Linked DNA regions of Homo sapiens: region 2 is linked to region 1. Evidence: promoter capture Hi-C in human tissues and cell types (Jung and others, 2019). All regions are on one chromosome and are shown on one strand. The core of a region is centred on a gene start or on the middle of the fragment in contact, and the rest is flanking DNA. Distances in the headings are between cores, read along the strand shown.

What was found. The method cuts DNA at HindIII sites, captures the fragments that hold promoters and counts their contacts. A contact is called where the count stands out against the background at its distance.
Region 2: a contact is called between a fragment that was not itself captured here and the fragment with the promoter of CHST1 in region 1, in 1 of the 25 tissues and cell types used here (H1 embryonic stem cells).

The regions. Positions count from the first base shown.
Region 1 is chr11:45,664,215-45,666,914 of GRCh38, reverse strand. CHST1 (carbohydrate sulfotransferase 1) reads left to right here and starts at 1,293. Exons shown (of 4, transcript NM_003654.6): 1 at 1,293-1,737. The HindIII fragment of the contact is 12,246 bases long and covers 1-2,700 here.
Region 2 is chr11:45,464,988-45,467,687 of GRCh38, reverse strand. No RefSeq gene overlaps it. Among named protein-coding and RNA genes, the nearest start is that of LINC02687, 95 kb to the right of the region's middle. The HindIII fragment of the contact is 7,479 bases long and covers 1-2,700 here.

The DNA of each region.
Region 1 (2,700 bases), core at 44-2,543:
ACAAAGTCACCCAGCAAACACACAGCAGGTTCCTCTGACCCAGGAAACTGCTGTGCTAACCATTCTGCTGTGCTTCACTGTGTGGGATGGAGGCAGCAGCTGCTTGCCCATACATCGGGGACGAGGCTTTCCCAGAATGCCTGGAGTTTTCAAGCCATCCACTGCTCTCTGCGCCCCAGTCCAGGAGTGATGGAGAGCTATAGTCGGGAATCAGAGATTCCAGGTGGAGATGAAGGCTGACTGTTCCTCTGCTTCAGAAATAACCATTTGGTCAGAACTGAGGAGCATCAGAGGTTCAGCCAGACAAAGCACCTTCCTAGTCTCCAGATGAGGAAACAGGCCACTGGGGTGGGCAGCCTCAGTCATGTCAGATGTGGTGGCAGAGCTGGGACTCCTGGCCGTCCTCTCCAGCCCAGGGGCCACTGATCACATGATATTGCTCTGCTCATGCACCCTGCTTCTCCTCCACTCCACTCTGAGAGGTTCATCAACCAGTCCCTGGTGCCCATGAAGGCCAGGCCTGTGGAAGATGCTCAGTCAATATTTGTGCAGAGGATACAGGCCCAAGGTGCTCGGCTGGCCAGCTCTGTCCCCATCCCTCATCCATAAAAGCAGTGGTGGCTCCAGATTGCCACCTAGAAAGCCAGGGGCAGTCTGGTAGGAAGAAGGTGGGCAGTGTGGAGGAGCGGCCTAGAAGACGGTCAGCCAGCAAACCCACTCTAAGGTCCCATTAAGACACCCCCTGACCCTGCCCAAGAGGGACAACTGCAGCGGGGACAAATGATTCATCCCCACACTTGAGAAGCAGAGGGGCGGGGAAGGAGGAAAGGCTAGGGGTGTGTGTCAGGGTATTGCACACAGAGATGGTTGGCTTCAGTTCTGGGTTCTGAAGTCCCTCTGTGCCGCTGGCTGGGCAAGAGGTAAAGGACAGCTGGGCCAGGGGCCAGGCTGGGACTCCAGCAGGACTTCCGCGGCGAGGGGCGCTGGGGGGGCGAAAGGCTTTGGCGGCCCGGCCAGCAGCGCCCTCGGGGGTAAGGGGAAGGGAGGCTACGCGGAGAGGTGCCAGAGACAGCCGGTGCCCTTGCCCGCCGGCCGCCCGAAGTCCGGGTGGTGGGCGTGGCTGCCCCCGGCGGGTGGGTGGGGGCGGGCTCCGGAGCCTGGCTGCGGAGTGGGTGTCCAGGGCGCTCGCGGCTGGGGCGGCGCGGGGGGCGGGAAGGCGCGCGCCGAAGGGGTGGGGAGGAGAAGGGGCGGGCGGCTCGGGGGTGGAGCCGGGACCGCAGCGCCTGCCGCTCGCTCGGAGCTGTAGCCGCCGCTGCCGCCGCTGCTCTTGGCTCGGGGACGCGGGCGGGCGCTCCGAGAGGCTCTGGTGCCTGCGGCTGCTGCTCTCCTCCGGCGCCCGGGGCTGCGGCGCTCCGGGTCCCGGCCCCTGTCCCGGCATCTCTCGGGTCCCTGAGCCCCGGCCCCGGGTCCCGCGTCCGGCCGGAGAGAACGCACTCAGCTGCTCGAGCCGCCCCGGGCTCGCGCCCCCGGGCCATGAAGAGGGGCCCGTGAGGCGCGCGCGGAGTCGGAGGAAGAGGAGGGAGGAGGGAGGCCGAGGAGGAGGGCGCGGGAGGCGGAGGATGCCGCCGCGGCTGCTGCCGCCGCCGCCACCCGCGGGTCCCCGGCGACCCTGACTCCAGACCCGAGGATGGAGCCGGCGCTGGGCGCTGCAGCTGCTCCCGGCGCGTCCCCGACCAGGTATTGGCCGGGCCCCGCGGGCTCCGGGGCGGGCGGGAGCGGACACTCCGCCGCAGCAGCCGGGAGGGGCGCGGGCGCGGTGGGAGACGCCCCTCCGCTCGGGGACAGCAGCTACCGGCGGTGAGCGGAGGGGTGGCGGCGGCGAGGAACGGCGGCGTGTTGGGCGCAGGAAGGGGCTGCCGGGGCTGGTGGCCGGTGAGCGCCGCGATCACCTCAGCCCTCCCTGCCCCCATTCGAGGAGGGCAGCAAACTTGAGACGCGCGGTGGCCCCCGAGGCGCTTGGCTCCCCTCCGCTGCGGAGCGCACTCAGGGGCTGCTCCGGGCTCACCGTCCCACGACCCGCCTGGCTCGGGTCTGCGGAGGCGCCTTGAGACCCTGAGGTCCCCGCGCCCGCACCAACTTTCCAAACCCAGCTGCACCCGGAGGCGGGGGCGCCGCTCCCTGCTTCCTGCTCCCAGCCCTGGCCCGGCCTCCGCACCCAGACCGCTGCGATGAGCTGGGCCCCTGTGGGGCCGGAGCCGCCGGATGGTGCAGAGCCCACCACGGAAAGCCGGAACAACCCTCCCGCTCTTCTCTGGGTAGGACCCGGGGATCAGCCCCTCCCAGGCTCCAGGGACCCAGTGCTGGCTTTCGCGGTAACAGCCCAGAGTAACCCTAGCTGGGATGCTGGGCGTTAAAAGGCCAGGCTGCCTGAGGAAGGTAAGACCCGGGGGTCGTCCTGGAGTGGCACCTTGGCCTGATTTCAGGTGTGCCCCCTCCCCCACCCCGGGCCTGCCCTTTCACAGGACTGCCTTCCTCAGCTCTGGGGCCGGCTTCCTCTTGGTGGACTTAAAACTGCTCTTCGGCAGCGGACTCCCTAGGAAGGGCCACTCCTAGGGTCCAGGTGCCTGAAGACGGGCTTGGGCCGGCCATTGACAGGGAGCTGGAGGCTGGGGCAGGGGAGGTGGCTGTCCAGTCAAGGAC
Region 2 (2,700 bases), core at 115-2,614, 200 kb after region 1:
AGCCGAAGTGGAAGCCAGGGTGGGCGGATTCCCAGGTCTGCATCCTCCATCCTTACTCCTAGGACCATTCTGTGGGGCTCTGAGTGGGGGTGGGAAGAGAGAGGGCCCCCACTCCAATTACCTTCAGTGCAGTTGAAAGACGGTCCCAGGTCCCGGCTTCTGTGGGGCTGTCCTGGGGTTAGGACATCTGCTCAGTCCCCCTTTTTCCTTTTTATAACTTTTCCCATTTCCTGAGCCCCATCATATGCCAGAAACCATGCTGGGCATGCCACCCACATTATCTCAGGCCTTGTGGGCTAGGTGCTGTTTTCCCCATTTCAAAATTAATGAGAAACAGAGAGGTTAATGCCTAATCCTACATCACACAGCTGCTCAGAGCTAACAGAGCTGGGATTCGAGACCCCTGCAGCTCTGCTTTCTGCCCAGCTGTAGCACTAAAATCTGATGCCCACAACCAGCTATGCAACCTCTCCATGTTTCAGTTTTTCCTTCTATAAAATGGGAGTGGTAAAGTAGTGCTTACATATCTTCTAGGATTATTGTGAGGATTAACTTGGTAAATGTACACATATACCCACAAAACATTTGGAAGAGTGTCTGACATAGAGTGAGTTCTCTACGAATTAAAATTAGCTGTTTTCAGGTCACTGGATTAGCATGGGCCACAAGATCAATGGCATTGGGTTTCCTGAGTCTGATTCCTGAGCCTTGCCTTGGAGGCGTGCAGTGGGTGGGCCTACTTAGTGTTTATTCAGCAAACACTACTGGGGCATTGGTTGGACCCAGACACTCAACAATAGCTCATTTAATCCTCACAATCACCCTCTGAGATATGTAGGGACTATTCTAATCATTCCCAATTTACAGATGAGCAAACTGAGGCATAGAGAGGTGCAGAAACTTGCCCAAGCTCAAACAGACTTGGAACAGGGGCAGCTTGGCTTCAAAGTCTGTGGTCTTAGCCACCTCGCTTCATCAGCTGCCTCTCCTTTCCAGAATGTGAGAACCTGAGTGGAAGAGGTACGGCTTTTCTGTATGGGCTTGAAGCCAACAATCACCCCCAACTATTCACCATATAATTAATGATGATTATCTTATCTCTTGGGAGTGAAATAGACACACAGTGACTATGAAGCCTGTTATGCTAAGATCTGTGTGCTCTTTTCCCAGGAGATAAGGGCTAAATAGGCAGAAACCAAGGTGGTGATCTCTCAATATTGTTCAGGAAGGAGAATTATGGAGCAGGCGAAAAATTGTTTGGCCTAAGTTTGCTGGTATCCCAAATGATTTTTCTCATTGTTTGTTTTTAAAAAAACCTAAATTGGGGTCTCCTTGGAGAAAGGAAGGCCAGGCCTGGTCATGGTGGCTCCCTGCCATGCTTCATGGCCAGAGTGACCTCTGCAAGGATCTGCTGCATGAATAATCACATCCTGGGAGTGAACCCATGTGTGAGAGTCAATTCCTGGACCCACCAAAAGAAGAGGGGCCTGAGGGGTCATCTGGTCCAGTATCCCTCCCTTCAAATAGGAAGAAATCCAGGCCCAGAACAGGGGAGCGACTTATGCAAGGTTGCACAGCAGACTGATGGCTGTCATGGGTAGCAACTATATGGGGGTGGTGGCATGGGTGGTAAAGGAATTTATCAAGACAGTCATAGGTATAGAAAGGCAGATTTATTACAGAAGATATGAAAAGATGTAAGAAAGCAACGGGTAGATTAGCAGGAGAGGAGCTGACTGCAAGGAGACAAAAGCTTTCTGGGGAGTTCATAGGATGGTGCTTGTGCTGGAGAGGGCTATGTGTAGTATTGATAATGCCAAGGTTGCAGTGAGCTAACTTGCATTTTTTAATCAGCTGAGAGTCTGGTGGTAAGTTGGGTACAGGAAGACTGTGAGTTATTTGCACAGGAGGGCTATGTGTCCTGGATTGTGAAGAAAGGCAGGTGTGTAGCTTATTTTCTTTTTCTTTTTTCTTTTCCCTTGTTTTGCCAGCCTAACTCTGTTTCCTTAACATTGTGACCCCACAATGGTGACCAGAGCTTCAGGACCCCTGGTCACTCCTTATGACCTTAACATTGACAAGACGCCTCAGCTTTGCCTGGTCTGGACTACAGAGTAACAAGGAGAGAGTGCAGGTGATGGCTCAAGCAAACCTGCCTGTTCCTAGGATGGTAAACTCCATAATGGCAGGCGACCATGGTGTCTTCTTTGCTGCATCCCTAGGGCCCAGCACAGAACGTGGCATACAGTAGAGACTCAATAGATATCTTCAAAATGACTTACTGAATGAGAAGGCCAGTGTGCAGTGAAACTGGAAGGGCAGAGTAAGCAGTGGGACCCCTAAGGGAGTCTCAGAGGGAGGGAGGTAAGGAAGATTCGGAAGACGAGGCATCTTCTTAGGAGGCTTCCATCCTCTCCAAAGATCTGTTCCCAAGGGAGGTTCTCTTGGAGAATCATCCTCAAGAAGAAAGTGTATGTGCCTTGCAGGGAGGTGGGAGTAGAGCTGGGAAACTTCTCCAGGTCCCAGCAGGGCACTCCATTCCCAGCCACTCAACCTGCACTTCTCCAGGCTATATCTGGCCTCACTGAGGCCTGATCTTACTCAGACCATGAAGCCTGGCTGTGAACCACCAAGTGACAGCTCAAAGCCCTATCTTTAAACCGCTCACCATGGTGTTTTAGTAGAAGCCATCTGGGCCTT